Linked DNA regions of Homo sapiens: regions 2 and 3 are each linked to region 1. The links are contacts of gene promoters, found by promoter capture Hi-C in human tissues and cell types (Jung and others, 2019). All regions are on one chromosome and are shown on one strand. The core of a region is centred on a gene start or on the middle of the fragment in contact, and the rest is flanking DNA. Distances in the headings are between cores, read along the strand shown.

The links. Contacts are between HindIII fragments. The study calls those that stand out against the background at their distance.
Region 2: a contact is called between a fragment that was not itself captured here and the fragment with the promoter of ERCC4 in region 1, in 1 of the 25 tissues and cell types used here (dorsolateral prefrontal cortex).
Region 3: a contact is called between the fragment with the promoter of TNFRSF17 here and the fragment with the promoter of ERCC4 in region 1, in 1 of the 25 tissues and cell types used here (dorsolateral prefrontal cortex).

The regions. Positions count from the first base shown.
Region 1 is chr16:13,918,899-13,921,614 of GRCh38, reverse strand. ERCC4 (ERCC excision repair 4, endonuclease catalytic subunit) reads right to left here and starts at 1,461. Exons shown (of 11, transcript NM_005236.3): 1 at 1,243-1,461. The coding sequence starts at 1,449. The region is part of intron 1 of LOC105371093 (a long non-coding RNA gene); the gene reads left to right. LOC124903647 (a long non-coding RNA gene) reads left to right here and starts at 1,537. Exons shown (of 2, transcript XR_007065001.1): 1 at 1,537-1,936; 2 at 2,032-2,150. RefSeq lists enhancers at 1,008-1,217, 1,258-1,617, 1,828-1,877. The HindIII fragment of the contact is 8,609 bases long and covers 1-2,716 here.
Region 2 is chr16:12,905,806-12,908,505 of GRCh38, reverse strand. The region is part of intron 1 of SHISA9 (shisa family member 9); the gene reads right to left. Among named protein-coding and RNA genes, the nearest start is that of SHISA9, 5.6 kb to the right of the region's middle. The HindIII fragment of the contact is 4,669 bases long and covers 1-2,700 here.
Region 3 is chr16:11,963,885-11,966,584 of GRCh38, reverse strand. TNFRSF17 (TNF receptor superfamily member 17) reads right to left here and starts at 1,375. Exons shown (of 3, transcript NM_001192.3): 1 at 1,131-1,375; 2 at 244-390. The coding sequence starts at 1,260. It also overlaps a transcript of NPIPB2 not described here. RefSeq lists enhancers at 1,148-1,587, 1,708-1,827. The HindIII fragment of the contact is 26,500 bases long and covers 1-2,700 here.

The DNA of each region.
Region 1 (2,716 bases), core at 212-2,711:
AATCTATCCTAGAGGGACTTCATGTCACTGGGTCCCTTGGCTTGGTTTATTTATATCCCCAGTTTAAAACCATCTTTACTAGGCCCTGTGTGTTGCCTTAGGCCCTATGCCAAGCACTGGGGATACCTAGATGAATCAAACAGGATCCCTGCCCTCAAAGAGACTGTGGTCACTCTTCTCAGCTGACATTTTTCTCCCGGCCACCTGATATATCTAGGGGATCATCAGACTTGTCCGACCAAGCTGTGTCCCCTCTCAACACCCCTCAGACCCATGTGTAGCCCCATTCCATCTTTCTCAGTGTTCTCCATTGTCCTTAACTGTAGTTAACCTTTGCCAACATCCTCAGCGTCAAGCTCCAATCCCTTTCTGACCCTATGGCCCTCTTAACACAGCCTTGGTGAATGTCCTATTTCCTGGTCCCTCCTTTTCCCTATTGGGGTTTTTCCAGCGCCTCAGCATCTCCTTTCATGTCTCCCCATCACCCTCAGAGATCTTCCATCCTCATCACTGTTCCCTTTCAGGGACCTTCCTTCTGCCCCCAGAAACTCCCTTAATGGCCAACTTCAGGACTCTCCCGTTATTCCTATCCAGATCCTCCTTCCGACATCTCCCCCTCCCCTGCAGCGACCTCCGATCCTCTCCTACCACTCAGAGCCCCTTCACCTTTCAGTGCCCTTGCACCCATGTCAGGGACCTGCATCCTTCTGGGGACCCCTCCCATCCCTCTTAGTGTTGTCAGGGAATTGCATCCTTCTCGGGACCCCTTCCATCATTCTCACTGTGCCTGCACAGTGTCAGGGACCCGCATCCCCTGGGGACCCCTCCCATTTCTCTTAGTGTTCTTGAACTCTGGTCAAAGACTTGCATCCTTCTTGGGACCCCTCCCTTCCCTCTCAGAGTCCCCGCACAGTGTCAGGGACTGGCATTCCTCTTAGTGTTCTTCAACTCCTGCCAGGGACCTGCAGCCTTCTCGGGGCCCCTCCAATTCTTATCAGTGTCCCCGCACGGTGTGAGCGACCGGTATCCTCCTAGCGACCCCTTACATACGTCTGTGTTCCCGCAGTGTGAGGGACCTGCATCCCCCTGGGGACCCCTGCCATCCTTCTCTGTGTCATCGCGTAGTGTCAGGGGCCTGAATCCCCCTCAGAGCCCCTCCATCCCTGTCAGAGGCCTCGCATCCGCTCAGGAGGCCCTCAACACTCTCGGAGTCCCCTCACTCCCGCGCCAGCGCGGCCGCACCTCCTCGGCCGGCTGCGTGTTGAGCACCAGCACCAGGCAGGCTGGGTGGCAGTGCAGCTGGAGAAAGTGGTAGAGGAGCCGGTCCGCGCCGAGCCCGCGGGCGCACACTACTAGCCCGTCAGTGTCGAGCAGTTCCAGCACCAGCTGTCGCTCGTACTCCAGCAGCGGCGCCATGGCAATCCGTCGAGCCGGCTGCCCTGACTCCATGGAAGCTCTTCCGGGTCGCAGCCGAACGCAGCCGAAGGAAGCCGACTCCTAGTGGAGAGTAGGCCGAACTCAACCGAAGAGAGCCGAGTCCGAGAGGACGGCAGCCAGCCGAACGTAGCCGAGGAGAGCTGAGACTGAGATGATCGTGGGCCGAACGCAGCCGAAGAGGAGCCGAGGCCACGACAGGCGCGCTCTCAGAAAGCCGAAGAGAGCCGAGCCTGAGAAGGCAAGCGTTGGCCGAACTCAGCCGAAGAAGAGCCGAGTGGAGCCGAAGATTCATGGAGTCACCTGTAGGGGCTGGCGCCCCCTGTCGGTGTAGCTTGCAGATATCAGGCTCCATTCACGTCTCTTTTGAGTTTCCACATCCCCTGGCACCCTAGCCTCAAGCTGCCAAAAAGCAAGGGAAGGGGAAGTAAGCCTAAGGAGCTTAATCCCCCGACATCGACAGTTGAAAAAGTTACTGGTCAATATTCCAAATGCGCCAAGAGTTAGTAGCACCTGTTTCCTAGGGTGGTTTTTGGCCCTTCCTTTTGCGATTACTCCCCATCCTTCTTTTAATTTTTTTTTTCTTTCCCGAGACAGGATGTTGATATGTTGCCCAGGCTGGAGTGCAGTGGCTGTGGAATAAGCAGAATCATTTACTGACTTCAGACCTCTGTTTGCCTCCCAAAGACTTCAATACAATAAACTATTTTTAAAAATCCCTCCTTCCACTAGAGGGACACCTCCCGCAGTGTTTGTTCTATACCTAGAAATGCCTGATAGTTGAACTAGTAGAGGAATTGTTTTGTATAGAAACCCCCCACCTTTGTTATTAGAAAATAGAAAATACAAGTAAACAAAAATGAAAATCACTTGTTTCCATTACTTGGAAATAACCACTGTTAACATCACGAAATCTATTTTATTTAGTCCTTTTTTTTCTATCTATATACACATTCTCTCATCACACGGAGTTCTTTTACCGACACGAGATAATTAATATCCCTGATTTAAATCCCCAGCTTTGTCATTAACATTTGGCAAACCTCTGAACATGATGTTTCATATTCTTTTACAAAGTCCTTTTATATGGCTGATGAGATTTCCATTATGTGGGTGTACTTACCTAATTGCTTATTAGAGGACATTTAGTCTGTTTCTGCTTTTTCCCTTCCAGTAATATAAATAATATTTCACTAAACATCTTTGTATGTAAATTCAGCCGTGGCCTTCAGATACACGTCTAGAAATGAATAATCACTGGGATAAAGAGAAAAAAATTTGT
Region 2 (2,700 bases), core at 24-2,523, 1.0 Mb after region 1:
TCCATAAACAGCAGATTGTCATAGAGCCTACCTCATGGGGGAAGGGTATGAAATTAAACGAGAATTTACACATAAGCTTATGGCAAAATTGCAAAACCAACAAGGATTTTTCAACACCACTTAGGCCAACACTTTGCAATGTATTTAACGTAGTCACATATAGACCCTCCCTCCTATTCTGCACCTGCCAGCCCCTCCCACTCAGATTCAAATGCAAGTCCAGAGAGGTTAGGAGACTTGGTCAATGTCACACAGTTAAATAAATATAGCAGAGCAAGGGTTAGTAACCGAGATCCAGATGACAACATAATTCTCTTCAGTAGACAAGAGGTAAAAAATGTCAATAATAAGGATGATGATAAAAGGGTAATAGTTGTGACAGGTCCTGAGCTCATTGTTTTCCAAGCCCTGTCTCAGTGAATCCTCCACCTGCAGACAACAGCCTGAGACTCAGAGAGGTGAAGCAACCTTCCCAAGGTCACACAGCTATTAAGTGGCTGAGCTGAGATTGAATCTCAGGCCATCTGACTGGAGTCTGCGCTATGCAGAGCAACTTGACTGACTCTCTAGAGGCTGCAGTTAACATAACAGAGTGAATTGGGTGGAGGTGGTGACTGAGATGAACCCAAGAGCTTCCTGAAGGGGGCAGTCATCACTTAGTGGCAACCAATAGCTGCTGCGTGAAAATGCAGATCCAATGTCACCAGACCCACTGAGTTCTCATGAGAAATCAGGAATCTGGATTCCTGCGTGAAATCTCCCAGTTTGTAAATGTTGGCAACTGAGTCTCAGCTGGTTTTAAAACACCACGCATAATAGAGACTAAAGAGATTTCACAGCCAAATACAATGAGCTGGGTCCCGATGTGCAAAACCAAGCTCTGAAAGACCTGTTTTTGTGCGAGTGAGAAATTTTTAAATGACTGGATGTCTGATGATATTACGGGATTTTTGCTCTTTTTCCTGGGTGTGATAATGGAATTGTGCTGTGTAGGAAAATGTCCTTGCTCTCAGGAAAGCCCCCTGCTGAGATATTAGGGACTAAGTGTCATGTCTGCAACTTATTTTCACATGTTTCAGCCAAGAAAGAAAGAAGAAAGGGAGGGAGGGGAAGAGGGAAGGAAGAAAATGAGGAAGGGAAGAAGATGAGAAGAGGGGAGGGGAAGGAAGGAAAGAGAAGGGAGAAAAGGGAAGGGAGGAAGGAAAAAAGAAGCAAAGAAGGGAGGAAGGGAAGAAGACAGAAGGAAGAAGGGTAGGAAGGGAAGAGAGGAAAGAAAGGAGGAAGGAAGCAAGGAAGGGAGGGAGGGAGGGACGGAGGGAGGGAAGGGTGGAAGGGGGATGGAGGGAAGGAGGGAGGGAGGGAGGGAAAGGAAGAAAAGAAGAAAGGAAGAGAGGAAGGAAGGAAATAAGGAAGGAAGGAAAAAACAAAGGAGGAAGGGAGGGAGGGAAGGAGGGAAGGGGGAAGGGGGATGGAGGGAAGGAGAAGGGAAAGAAAAAAATATGGAAAGAGTGTGTGAGCAATAAAGCAACTATGACAAAATACTAATAATTGTTCAATCTAAGTTAGTGGTTCTCAACTGGGGCCAGTTTTGCCCTTTGCCCTTAGATGACATTTTTCACTGTCAAAACTGGGGTGTGGAGTGTGTGCTACCAGCATCAGTGGGCAGAGACCAGAGACGCCGCCAAATATCTTGCCATGCACAGGACAGCCCCGTACAACGCAGGATTCTCCAGTCAATAGTGCCAAGGTTGAGAAATCCTCATCTAGATAAAGGATATAGTGAAGTTATGTTATGATTTTTCAAGGTTTTTTTGTATGTTTAAAACTTCTCACAACACAAAATTGAGGAAAACTTAAAAATAAAAACACCTAAGTAGAAATACCTTGCAGATCAAGCAAAGCATGACTACATGGTTTGGTATCCATAGCTGGCTGCCATGTGCAGTCATTTATTCTAATAAATAGTGACTGACTGTGGCTGCTCTTGCAGCTGCTCAATGGGCATTTGTTCGGTTCTTACGAGATCCCATGCGAGCCTCCCCCCACCGCTTCCTGGAATTGCTGTCTTTCTCCTTTTCTCAGCCCTAATTAGCCCAGAAGCAAGCAGGCCACAGGCCCAGGACTCTGAACCTGCAAACTGGTATCTTGGAGGCCTCTGCAGCAAAACCCAAGTTTACTGGTCACTAGGGGCAAAGTTTATAATGGGGGTGCGACAACATACTTTATGTCTTTCAAGAGAATATGCTTTCAGTCTGGATGAGAACAAACCCCCATTCAGGGTCCCTTGCAGCTCCAGACAAAAATTAAGAGGCTGTGACTGGCAGGTTAATTTCACCTGGAAGCTGCCTGTGACTGGCAGGTTAATTTCACCTGGAAGCTGCTTTGTGTCATAGCAGCCTCTCTGATGCCAAGCTTGGCAAGTTGACACCCACTGGAGCAACCCTTGGCACAATCCGGCAAAGGCTACTGGGTCAGTTGCCATAGCTGGGACTCCAAGTGATTAACTGCGTAAGCAGCCCAGGATGCATTTGGCAGGTACCTGGGGTAGCCCCAGCACCACAGAAAAGTTACATACGTTGAGAAACAAGCAACAGAATACAAATACGGTCAGGCACAGTGGCTCATGCCTGTAATTCCAGCACTTTGGGAGGCAGAGGTGAAAGGATCGCATGAGGTCAGGAGTTCGAGACCAGCCTGGCC
Region 3 (2,700 bases), core at 126-2,625, 2.0 Mb after region 1:
AATAGAGTAATTAACAGTGGAAGAATCCTGGAGAAGACTGACATTGTAGAAAATCTGCCAAGGTGTCAAAATCAGAATGAAGATGGCTCACCTCTACCAAGTTCATTTAATGTAACAATGTTCTAACACATTCGAAAGGGCTGTAACGAAGTGAAATAGTCAACGCTAAAAAAAGAAAAGGAACTGAAACTCACAATAGCCATCCCCTGGAAATAGATTTCAAAGATTCACCATCAAACCAACCTGTGTTTTTAAACTCGTCCTTTAATGGTTCAGAGTTTATCTTCCTTAGCAAAAACATTAGCACGAAAACTGCCAAAGAAATTATTAAGCTCAGTCCCAAACAGGTCCAGAGAATCGCATTCGTTCCTTTCACTGAATTGGTCACACCTTTATGAAAAGAACATCAGACAGATAATGAGCTGATAACATAATATTCACATACTTTATTGTTATTATTTATTTATTTATTTTGAGACAAAGTCTTGCTCTGTTGCCCAGGCTAGAGTGCAGTGGCGCGATCTCGGCTCACTGCAACCTCCACCTCCCAAGTTCAAACAATTCTCCTGCCTCAGCCTCCCGAGTAGCTGGGATTACAGACCTGTGCCACCATGCCCAGCTAATTTTTTGTATTTTTAGTAGAGACAGGGTTTCACCAGGTTGGCCAGGCTGGCCTCAAACTGCCGACCTCAGGTGATTCACCCACCTCGGCCTCCCAAAGTGCTGGGATTACAGGTGTGAGCCATCCACCGCACCCGGCTGTCATACTTGATTATTTTGCTAAAATAATGAATTATGGATTGTTTTGATAGCAAAATAATCAAGTATGGATTATTTCCATTCAATCACCTTAATTAATGAACATTGACTTTTAAATTCTAAATATCACTTAATTAGAAGAGCTGATTTTTAAAAAAAATCTATGTTGCTAATAGTGCTGAATCATATCAAGTTCAGTTCCAAATAATTACTTTGTTTCCATAAACATTAAAATCACTGCCTTGCTTCCTTTCTCTTTTTGATTCAAGAAAACTCACCATCATGCCCATTATGTTGATTCTCTGAATAAGCAGTCCATATAGACAGAATAGTTCACACCAATGAATAATCGTTCAAGCAATATTACTTACTTGCATTACAATAACGCTGACATGTTAGAGGAGGAGTATTAGAAGAACATCGAAGTTGACAAGGTATGCAAGCATGCAACAAACTGTCAAAATATTCATTTTGGGAGCACTGCCCAGCCATCTGCAACATGATCACAAAAAGAAAACAAGGGAGCTACAGAAAGAACAGCCTGGAAGGACAAGTAATATCTCTACAAGAATTCCAGAGCAAATGCAGCAAGAGCAGCTAGAATGTTGAGAACAATGAACTTCGCCTGCTTCGTGGGTTCTTACGGGGGCTGTCTGTGTCTTCGCGGCAGCTAAGGATTTGAATACCACATCTAATTCAAGTTTCTAAGTTTGAGTCTTGGATGGGGTAAGAGACAGGGTGTAAATATCAGGGCATATCACATCTGAAACAGAAACTGCTTATTTATAGAAGAAATTTCTCAGCCAGGTGACAGTTGCAAGATGCAGACAAGCCCACAGCATCAAGCCGAATGTTCAGTAACAGTTTCTGGAACATCTGTTAATAAGCTGTACTCTGTGAGAGGTGCCAGGGAGATAGACAAGACAAGGTCTGTGCTGTGCCCCTTAAGATCTTAACATTGAGGCCAGCTGCAGGGGTTCACACCTGTAATCCCAGGACTTTGGGAGTCAAAAGGCAAAAGGATTGCTTGAGCCCAGGAGTTCAAAATCAGCCTGGGCAACATGGCGAAACCCTGACTTTACAAAAACATTTTAAAAAGTAGTCTGGTGTAAGCTGGGCGCCGTGGCGCTCTCCTGTAATCCCAGCACTTTGGGAGGCCGAGGCAGGTGGATCACTTGAGGTCAGGAGTTCCAGAACAGCCTGGCCAACATGGTGAAACCCCGTCTCTACTAAAAATACAAAAATTAGTCAGGCATGGTGGCAGGCACCTATGATCCCAGCTACTCAGGAGGCTGAGGCAGGGAGACGTGCTTGAACCCAGGAGGCGGAGTTTGCAGTAAGCCAAGATCAGGCCACTGCGCTCCAGCCTGGGTGACAAAGCAAGACTCTATCTCAAAAAAAAAAAAAATTCTACAGGAAGATCAGAGGTGATGCACTAAGGAAGACGCACAATGCCACTGACAGAAAAAGAGACATTTAGGGTAAGAGCTCGTGGAAAGAGGGCTGAGAGGAAGATAGGTTTGGGGTATTATAATAATAATACAATAATCTATGTTCCATTGTTGAAAATTTAGAAATACAGATGAGCAGATAAAACCATTTTAAAAATCCACAGTCCAAGCATCCAGAAGTCATCACCGCTAACACCTGGTGTATCCCAGAAGTTGCAAACAGACCTGCCGATGCGATGTCTTTTGTTTCACCGATCCCTGAATTCTAGATAGATACATTTATATAGTGCATTTTTCTGTTTACATAAATGGATCACTTGAATTTGCCTTTTTTTTTTTTTTTGACAGAGTCTCACTCTGTCTCCCAGGCTGAGTGCAGTGACACAATCACAGCTCACTGCAGCCTCCACCTCCTGGGTTCAGGTGATCTGCCCACCTCAGCCTTCCAAGTAGCTGGGACTACAGACATGCGCCAGCACGCCTGGTAAGT